3 separate regions of the Homo sapiens genome follow, and all the other regions are linked to region 1. Evidence: promoter capture Hi-C in human tissues and cell types (Jung and others, 2019). All regions are on one chromosome and are shown on one strand. Each heading gives the region's core, a stretch centred on a gene start or on the middle of the fragment in contact. The rest is flanking DNA. Distances are from core to core; before and after follow the strand shown.

Region 1 (3,000 bases), core at 451-2,950:
CCCCCGCCTCCGCCAGGGTCCTTGGGTGAGTGGCCCAGGGCTTCGGCCACATTCTTCAGGGCGGCAATGGGCGAGGGCACACCAGGGGTCTCAGCGGAGTACGGGCCGCCGGGTGCCACCCAGTGCCGTTGCTGCTGCTCCTCGGTGGTCATCTTCCCAGCCGCCTCGCCCTCCGGCTCGGGGGATGCCTTGCGACGGCGCGGCGTGGGCGCCAGGTTCCGGGATGGGGCTCGCGGGGGTGGGCCACAGAGAGCCGCAGGGGCCGGCTCTGGGTACTGCTGGGGCAGGGCCTCCGCGGGAGCTGGCTCGCGGAAGCTGCGGACGCCGTCGGTAAGCAGCTCGCCCAGCTGCCGCCATTCTCCTGATCCATGCCGGCGTTCATATTCGAGGTACTTGAAGCCCGAAGAAGCCAGTGCCTTGCCCGGCTCCCGCAGAGCATCGTGGAACATCTGGCGAGCCACTGCCAGGACGCCGGCGTACACATTGCCGGAACCACAGGGGTATTCGGTGAAGAGCTTCAGCTCGAACTCGTATCCTGGAGGACGGGCAGTAGCATCGAAGGCGAACACTCGCCCCACCAGCCCGTGATCCTTCTTGAAGCGCACATTGAACGGGGCGCAGGCGGACAGCGCCAGTAGCTGTTCCCGCACTGCTTTGGGGCGCCCGTGCCATTCCTCTGCCCGGCCTCGCATGGCCTCGTTCAGTTCTGCCAGACAGTCCGCATTCCTCTGCTGCTTCTCTTTCTCGAAATCGGAGCCGAAGAGGGGACGGGCAGGACTCAAGCCGGGTGCCAGCGTCAGGCCTCGGCTTCCCAGGCCAGACACTGCAGCTGCCAGCAGCCCAGGGGGCATCAAGCCAGGCATGGAGCCAAGCAAGGCCCTTCGCGCCCCCTCAGCCACGGCCTCCTCACGGCCCAGCCCATTGGCCAGGCGGGACCCCAGAGTGTACTCCAGGGCGGGCGAGGGCAGGGGGAGGCGGCCTGATGATGTGGCCCTGTCATAGCGGTCCTGGCCCGACACGCCGCCGCCGGTCCCTGACGGCTGGGGCTGGGCCTGCGGGGGCGGCAGCTGGGGCCCCTGTGCGGCTGCCGCCGCCAGGTCCTTGGTGGCCGGGTGCTTAAGGGCCGGGGGCCCGGGCGAGCGGCCCTCGGGGAGCACGTGGCTGCGCTTGAGCTGGCGGGCGGCATCGATGAGCAGTTCGATGCGGTCCGCGCCCTCGAAGTTCACGCAGCCGCGACACACGGCCTCGCTGAAGTCCCACACCATGGCCCACGGCATCTTGGGCAGGTCGCACAGGTAGCACCACTGGCGGCGGGACGCCTGCACAGACGCCATGGCCCCAGTCCGCGCGCCGCCCAGCTCCCGCGTTCCACCGGCCGCCGACGTGCGATCCGCGCCGCCAACGTTCGATCCGCGTCCCGGGGACAGCGCGAGCCACGGTCCGGCCTCCGGCTCGGCCTCCCCGCCGGATCCAGGCCCGGCCCCCCTTCCCCGCCCCCTGGGCCCTAAGCCTTTCTGCTCACTCCCGCCTCCCTCGCGAAGGCAGGCTGAGGCACGTCGGCGCCCCCGCCCGGTCCGGGCTCCGAGCCGAGGCGCACAGCTCGGGCCCCACGATGGGCCGCGAGCGCCGCCGCCTCGGGCTCCCGCCGCTCTCGCCGCCGCCGCTGCAACGGCCGCCGCCGCCTCCACCTCCTTCTTCTGCCCCAGAGGCCGCTTCGCAGGGAAAGTTACATAACACGCCTGCAAAGCCTTCTGGGAAACGTAGTCCCGCCGGGGCCGGCTCTTAAAGGGAACGGCGGGCAGACGCGGGCTGGGGGGGTTGTCGCCTCTGCCGGCGCAAACCTTACAACCTTCTCCGTGGGGCCGGAGTTCAGCGCGCCGCAAGATGCTGGGACACAAAGGTGGTAGGCGAGGATGCAATACAAATGATCAGAGCTACTCCGGATTCAGAAATTGTGGGGGTGGGTGGACAGGCTTCCGGGCTTCCAACTTCTGCTCGGATTTGCTGTGCAGCTTTAGGCAAAATGTCTTGCCCTCTCTGAACCTCAGTTTCCCCGCCCAGCAAAGGTGGGCCAATGACGGATTAGGAAAGTAGCAGCTTCTGGGGCGGGGCGGAGAAGCCCTGATTGGCTTCAGAGCAGGGACGGGAAGCTGGCAACTAGGTGGGGGTGGGGGTGGCCACCTGGCACTTCGTCCTCCCCCCGGAATCCTAGATATATGCTTCTGGGGCCCGCCACAGCCAGAGAAGGGAGAGGACTAAGGGCTTCCGAGCCAGAGCCTTGTCTCAGTTGTTTCTCTGCTAAAAGAGTGGGGCGACTGGCCGCCCTCTAACCCTGTCCCAGCTCTGCCCGCGCGCTCTGGTCTCTAAAGGGTTACACCATCGGGGGCTCGGCGTCCCCCACCCGCTTCACTACAATTCCCAAAATGCACTGCGGGTCGGACATAGTGACGCACTTCCGCCCTCTGGGAGGTTTGGGGAGGCCTTCCAGATTCACGCTACTTTCCCGGCTACCCCCCGCCCCCCCACTTTTCTGGGGGCTCTTTACGTGCATTCGGAGCGTGGCGTTTGGGGGACCCTTATCTTCTGTTGCTCCCCAGTTTGAGGGAAGAGTAAGGGGTTAAGAAGTGACGGGCAAGAGGAGGGAGTTGCTGGGGAAGGGCAAACACCAGACCAACCTTTCCCCAACCTTGAGCGCTCACTACCTGGAAGGCCCAATCAGGCTGTGAGGACCCTTCTTCTTTCCCAGGCATTGGGAACTGGACGAGGCTGTCTTTGGGGAAGGGCGGAGGCGGGTCTCCAGGTTCCAACCCACAACAGCCCCTTTCTCTAGGCCTGGGTCCGTGTTAGGTGCTCAAAAATATTTGAATGACGTACCAGTTGGCCCTGGTTTTGTCTAGTGAGGGGCTGCTTGTCCCTTCTCCTCCCGTCCCACTGGAACCGCAGCAGCTCTGATTCTGTTACCCAGACCTCACAATTTTAAAATGGTTTCACAATTTTGTC
Region 2 (3,049 bases), core at 195-2,694, 740 kb after region 1:
AGGGCCACCAGGCCGGCGTAGGCCAGCGAGAAGGCGGCGCCGCCCGGCTGGGCCCAGCGCATGCGGAGGAAGCACCAGCTGCCGGGGCAGTACTGCTGGTGTTGGCCCAGGCCCAGCAGGGGCAGCGCGCAGAAGAGGACGCAGAAGGCGTAGATGGCTGGCAGCGCCAGGCGGGCGCAGCGGGGCCCGTCCAGCTGCGCGTAGAGGTAGGGGTGGCTCAGCGCCAGGCAGCGCTCCACGGCCATGGCAAAGAGGATGAGCATGGACGCCAGGCCGAAGAAGGTCATGGCGAAGGCGAAGGCATCGCACAGGGCGGGGCCGCCTCGGGCCAGGCCCAGCAGGGAGCTGTTGCGCGCATAGGCCACGAACACGGCCGGGCTCAGGAAGCTGGTGCCCAGCAGGTCGGTGGCCGCCAGTCCGGTCACCAGCACCGCGAAGGCCGAGGGGCGCGCCGGTCGCCGTGCGCTCAGGATGCCCAGGGCCAGCCCGTTGCCCACCACACCGGCCACGAACATCAGGGTGCTGGTGGCCGGCCCCACCGAGCCCCGCACGTAGGTGAGGTTCCTGCACGAATCCGCCATCCCAGGTCTGGGCTGGAGGGTTCCCAAGGTGGGGGGTCAGAGGGAGCCAGGGCTACCCCCACCACCCAGCCCACTCAGATGTCCCTGCTGGCCAGTCCTTTTGGCAGCTGGGGCCTCCCAGCCAACCCCCAGTTCTCCTGTGTGTGCGGGTATGCAGTCCTCTCCCCTCTGGCTTCTCCAGTATCTCTCTCTGTCTCTCCCCACCTTCCTGTTTCTCTTTCTCTCTTTCTTTTCTTTCGTTTCTTTTGAGACAGAGTCTCACTCTGTTGTCCAGGATGGAGAGCAATGGCATGATCTCGGCTCACTGCAACCTCCACCTCCTGGGTTCAAGCGATTCTCCTGCCCCAGCCTCTGGAGTAGATGAGATTACAGGCGTCCACTACCACGCCCAGCTAATTTTTGTATTTTCAGTAGAGACGGGGTTCCACCATGTTGGTCAGGCTGGTCTCGAACTCCTGACCTCAGGTGATCCATCCACCTTGGCTTCCCAAAGTGCTGAGATTACAGGTGTGAGCCACCATGCCTGACACCCACCACCCCCCCACCACCTCCTGTTTCTTTCCTTCTCTAGCTCTGTTTCTGCCATTAAAGAGACAGAGAACATCCGGGCATTGCCAGTTCTTTCCCTCCCTGTCTCTCGGTCTCTTGCTGATATCTCCCTGTCTCTGTCCCCTCCCTTGTCCTTGTCCTCCCCGTACCTTTCTCCCTCTAACCCCACACCCTCTACCTGCTCCTGCTCTGTGTTGCTGCATCCCCAGCCCCTCACCGCACCTCTCCAGTCTTGCCCAGGCTCTCCTGTCCCGTGCGTCTGTGCCTTCACTTGCTTTGCTCCTCGTGTCTCTCGCTGCCTGTGTCGGTCTGTGTGTCAGCTTCTCCTTCCCTCCTCCCTCCGTCCCTCCCTCCTTCCCACCCTCCTCAGCTTGCCTGCTCACCCCAGCTTTTTCATTTCCTCTCTCTGCCCCGCCCTCCCTCACTGTTCTCCAGAGGGCCCCCTGGCACACTCCCCACTCCCCGTCCACCCGCCCAATCCAGGACATCCATCTCCCATCGCTGCCTCCACTCTCCTCCCCACATCCTCTCTTGGTTCCCATCACTGAGCCACCTGCCACCTCCCCACACACAGGTCTCCTCCCTCCCCCAGTGTCTCCCTCTCTGGCCTGGGTGGGGAATTCCTGAGTCACCATCACTTAGGCTTGGAGCCTCCCGGGGTAGTAGGGGGCCTCTAGGAGGGACCTGAAGAGCACAGTTGACCAGGCTTCAGTGGGGTGGTCTTGGCCTGGGCTGTCTCAGGGTGGCCTCTGGGATCTATTCTGGGCTCCAGGCCCCGGGGCTGAGGACATTGCCCAGGGATTGAGAAATGACCAGGAAATTCCTCTCTGATGTAGTGTTTTCCAGACACCACTGAGAGTTCTGGTCCCTGGACACAATTCACTCCTTCCAGAAAGCTGAGGAAGGAGGCTTGGCCAGAGAGAGACATGCCAGTCCCTCGAGCCTGTCCCTGGGCACCCAGCTCACCCTGCAGAGACCCGAGAAGAAAGCATGAAGGGGTGTATTTGGTGTCCAGTTGTCAGGGACAGGCTTGGGAGACTTCCATGGCCCATGATGGAAAGGTAGCACTGGGCCACCGTCCGACTTCTCGCACAGCACCCCTAGGCCCCAGGCCAAGCTCTGGTGACCTTGACCTTCAGGAATCATATTTTGATCACAGGAAGCTGTCCACAGCTCCAACATTGCTGCCATGTGTCCCCCACCCTCCCCAAACACAGCCAAGCCACCACCGCTGCAGCCTCGGGCCAGTGTGACAGACCCACATGTTCCCGCTACCCGCACAGCGTTCACGGGTCTCCCTTCCCACGGAGTCGGTGGCTTCCCAGGCAGCCTCCCAGCCCAAAAGGGCCAGATAAAACCTCAGAGACCCTCTCTGAGCCCCGCTGTTTCTCAGGGGGACGGTCTCAGATCCATTCGACTTGGCTTCCTGTTTCCATCTGACCACCTTTTTTCTTGCTGCGAGATGGTCCCAGGTGAGGAGAGGGAGCTGGTAGACTTCAGCCTCCTTCTCTGTGCGTGGGGTAACACGGGCCTCAGGGACCTGGTGGCCAGCCTCGGCCTGCAGCACATCCCAGATTGGTCTTTGTAACAAGGAGAGAGGCTGTGCGGGTGTCTCTTGTCCAAGGCCAGGAGGGATGTGTCCAACCCAAGGACTGGACTGTGGGCAGCTGCCGTCTTGCCCTCTGTACCCCGGTGTGTGACCACAACCCCTTTGCCCCTCCCCCCCATCTCCCTATCACCCTTGCCCAGCTGGCACCCGCAGCTTCCAGCAGGATGGACGCCCAAGTTCCAGCCCCACCGTGGCTCCCTAAGGGACCCCCCAGCCCTGCTCTGGGGGTGCCTGTACATGTGGGCTCCAGGTCCTGCCACGTTGTCCCGCCTCATGCCGTGAGGTCCCCAGACAGACCAGAGGGAACTCA
Region 3 (3,286 bases), core at 278-2,777, 830 kb after region 1:
AGGAAAGGGAATAGAGTCCCCAGGGTCTGTAGGAGTGCCTGCCCCTCCACACATATCTCAGGCTTAGGGGAGGGCAGAATTGGGCTCCGAGACCTCACTTGCCCCTGGCAGCTAACTCAAGCACCTGCACCCACACATGTCACCGGATCACCATGGCCAGCCCGGGTTCAATTTCTCCTGTTTCCACCAAATGGGAGGCCCGGGATGGGCCTGGACGTGGAGGTCCGCCGACATCTGCTGCCCCTTCCTCCCCTCTCTACACCTGGCTGGCCCCTCCCTTCCTCCCTGTTTGCTGCAGAAAACAACGACATGCAGGGACATGAAATTTGGGGAGGCCTCTGGGGCACCCCACCCCTGCCCAGTCCTCTCTCAAAGGGATGGTGGGGAGAGGGGCAATGGAGGGGGGCAATGCCCCCTATCCCTCCATCACCCAAAGCTCAGGTCTCCTTCCTCCCTCTTCCGCACACCAGGCCCCAGACCCCTCTGCCAGCGCCCCCTCCTTCAACCTCTCCCCGAGCTGGATCCAGGGAGCCTGCGCCCTCACCTTCTGGTCCACGATGGAACAGGCCAGCTGCTTCACATGAGCCAGCTCGGAGGCGGCGGGCAACAGCACGAACTCGCGGGTCAGCCCGATCTGGATGTGAAAGGAGACCCCGGAACCCGGGGCCGGGATCTGGGGCAGTAGCGGTGGCGGCGACTGCAGCTCTAGGCCGCCGGGGGGCGGAGGAGACCCCGGCCCGGGAGAGCCAGGGAGCCCGGCGGGATAAGAGGGGGCGGTGGCCATGGGGGGAGGCCGGGGACCGGCCGCCTGGAGCCCACCCGGGACCCGGCCGGGGGGCCCCGGGGGACCCTGGGTTCTAGATCCGCGGGATCTCGTGAGCAGGTGGTGGGAGAGCGGGGATCCGAGAAAAGATCTGGCAGGCGGAGGGGACCTGAGGATGGCGGGGTCCTGGGAAGGAGAGAAAGGCACTATAGTGGGTCAGAGGCCCGGAATCCAGGGCTCCCAGAAGATCAGAAAGGAGAAAAGTAGTGGGTTGGAGGTCCCAGCGATTGAGATTCCAAGAAGCCTGAGAGGAAATCTAGTAGGTCGGGGTCACAGGGATCAGGAGAGCCCGCGATTCAAAGGCCCCTTCCCTAGAGGAGGGATTGAGAAGGGGGCAGAGGGAATCCCAGGATCCAGTGCTCCAAGAAGAGGATCCCACTCAGAAGGCGGCCCGGGGGAATTCACCTTGGGGGTGGAGGGCAGGAGTCTCTGAGTCGGGGACCGAGTGGATTCCAGAGATAAAGGGGTTCGCAGGGACCCGACCGGCCAGGGGATGGGCAGAGGGGTCCCGAGGGCCGGAGTGGGTAGAAGGGAATCTCACGAGTCGCAGAAGTTGGAGAAAAGTTCGGTCGGGAGCCGTGAGGAAGGGGGCGTTGCCGGAGCGGGGTTGGGTGGGGGGCAGGGAGGGTCGCCAGGCGCCAGTAGCTCTTTTTCCCCCTCCAAAGTTTAAGTCGGCGGCGGCGGCGGCGGCCCAGGAGGAAGTGTCCGGAGCGACAGTGCAGTCGACCAATCGGCGCGGGCCTCGGCGACGTCAGAGAGGGGCGGAGCCTGCCGAGGGGCCGGGGGCGGAAGGGGAGGGTGGGCCCGGGGCCTCCGAGTTGGGGGCTGGACCTCCGCCTCCAGGGTCCGGGACAAGGGATGGTGTGAGGGATGGAGGGCAGGCAGGCGAGACCAGTTCCTTCCCTGAACACAGCCAAGCCTGGAAAGTTAACTTTTCCCTCGGCTGGACAGGGAGGGGAAACACTATCACCCACCGCCGGTCGCAGGCGTCGGGCTTGGAGGCCACTGGCCCTTTAAGGAGGGGAGCCCTCTCCGGCAGGCGTCCGGCGCCCATGGCAGGGGACGGGTGGGAAATCGGTATCAGGTCCCGGCCCGCTCTCTGGGTTCGGCCTCTCTGTTCTCCGAGCGTCACCCCTGCCCTCCCCGCCGCGTCCCAGCCCAGGGAAGGGGGTGCTGCAGAGCGTCCCCCGGCCCCAGCCCATTTAACACATGGAAAGACCGAGGCCTCCAGATGGGTAGGAAGGGGCTCGCCTTAGGTCTGTCTCCAGCGATGGTGGGCAAGGTGCATGGCGCTAACTGGATGGGTGGGGAGGGTCCATCCCCCCGCCCACCCCAACCCCGCCTTAGGATAGTGTGGGGCTGCCCCGAGGGAGGACAGCACACCCATACCACTTCATAGATGCAGAGTGTGTCTCCTGGGGATGTGGAGTACGTGTGCGTGTCTTTCTCTCCATGTGACTTTGGGTGAGTGGCTTCTCTGTGAGCCTCAGTCCCTCCATCTGTTGGGACTGTAATAGGACTGACCCCACATGGGATGGTGGGAGCCGATGCCATGGTATACTGGTGCCTGGAAACGCAGCAGTTCAGTAAGAGGTGGTTGTCTCTGATAATACGCGGAAAGGGGTGGCCACCTCCAGCACTCAGGCTTTGATGGGTGGGCACACCCATTCAGTCACCCAGCAAGTATCTGTGAGGACCTACTGGGTGCTGGGTGGGCCCTGCTGTAAAACTCCAGCCGCTACAGGGGTCAGGCTTGATCTCTCCTCCCCAGCTAATAATCAAATAGTGGCTACCATTTAGTTTACACAGAATAAGCTGAAGCCTCAGAGAAGCAAAACGTCTTGCCCAAGATCCCAGAGTGAAGTTGCTTGAGGGAAGCTGCCCCACCCACCCCTTTGATTGACAAGTCAAGGCCTAGGTTTGAGCTCTAAGAGAAGGGCCACCTGTCTGGCTGGGATGCTGGCAGGACTGGAAATGGCAGGGCTGGCTGAGGATGGGGGCTGCCAGAAGAGCCCCTCTTCCTGGTGTACGGCCGTTGGGGGTAGCTGAGGTCGGTACAGTATCGATTCTGTCACCACATCCGGGGGCTGGGGCTGAGGAAGGAAGTCTGAGGCTGGAGTGAAAACCCAAACCACCACCTGGGGAACTGCATTGAGCCCAGAGGGATGGGCAGGGAGCACACCACGTGGAGCCCACGAAGGCTCCCCTTGGCGTCATCTAAGGGCCTCCTGCCCACCTGCACCCTTTTTCCTGAAGGGCAGATGACTGTCCCAGCAAAACGCTGCCATGTCCTGAGTGTCCAGACAGCGGCCTCCATCCTTTCTCGTATGTTCACTGGGGCCTGCTGGGGGACTGGGGCACAGCCCTTTACAACCCAGGAACTGGGCATTAGTGCCCTGTGGCAGAGGTGCTAGGATTACCGAGGACGCCTGGCTGGTAGGTGGTGGAAGCCTCCTCGAGACA

Evidence for each region. The method cuts DNA at HindIII sites, captures the fragments that hold promoters and counts their contacts. A contact is called where the count stands out against the background at its distance.
Region 2: a contact is called between the fragment with the promoter of PTGIR here and the fragment with the promoter of IRF2BP1 in region 1, in 1 of the 25 tissues and cell types used here (spleen).
Region 3: the fragment with the promoter of PRKD2 here is called in contact with the fragment with the promoter of IRF2BP1 in region 1 in 1 of the 25 tissues and cell types used here (liver).

What each region holds. Positions count from the first base shown.
Region 1 is chr19:45,884,441-45,887,440 of GRCh38, forward strand. It overlaps IRF2BP1 (interferon regulatory factor 2 binding protein 1), which reads right to left and starts at 1,701. Exons shown (of 1, transcript NM_015649.3): 1 at 1-1,701. The coding sequence starts at 1,334. RefSeq lists silencers at 956-1,195, 1,236-1,715 and enhancers at 1,876-2,025, 2,176-2,415, 2,476-2,525. The HindIII fragment of the contact is 12,651 bases long and covers 1-3,000 here.
Region 2 is chr19:46,623,645-46,626,693 of GRCh38, forward strand. PTGIR (prostaglandin I2 receptor) reads right to left here and starts at 1,445. Exons shown (of 3, transcript NM_000960.4): 1 at 1,353-1,445; 2 at 1-593. The coding sequence starts at 581. RefSeq lists an enhancer at 1,660-2,160. The HindIII fragment of the contact is 28,599 bases long and covers 1-3,049 here.
Region 3 is chr19:46,715,587-46,718,872 of GRCh38, forward strand. PRKD2 (protein kinase D2) reads right to left here and starts at 1,528. Exons shown (of 18, transcript NM_016457.5): 1 at 545-1,528. The coding sequence starts at 784. LOC107987269 reads right to left here. Exons shown (of 4, transcript XM_017027568.2): 1 at 3,060-3,286; 2 at 2,767-2,916; 3 at 2,213-2,390; 4 at 948-1,591. The coding sequence ends at 1,225. RefSeq lists silencers at 1,424-1,473, 1,494-1,653 and an enhancer at 2,774-2,823. The HindIII fragment of the contact is 22,581 bases long and covers 1-3,286 here.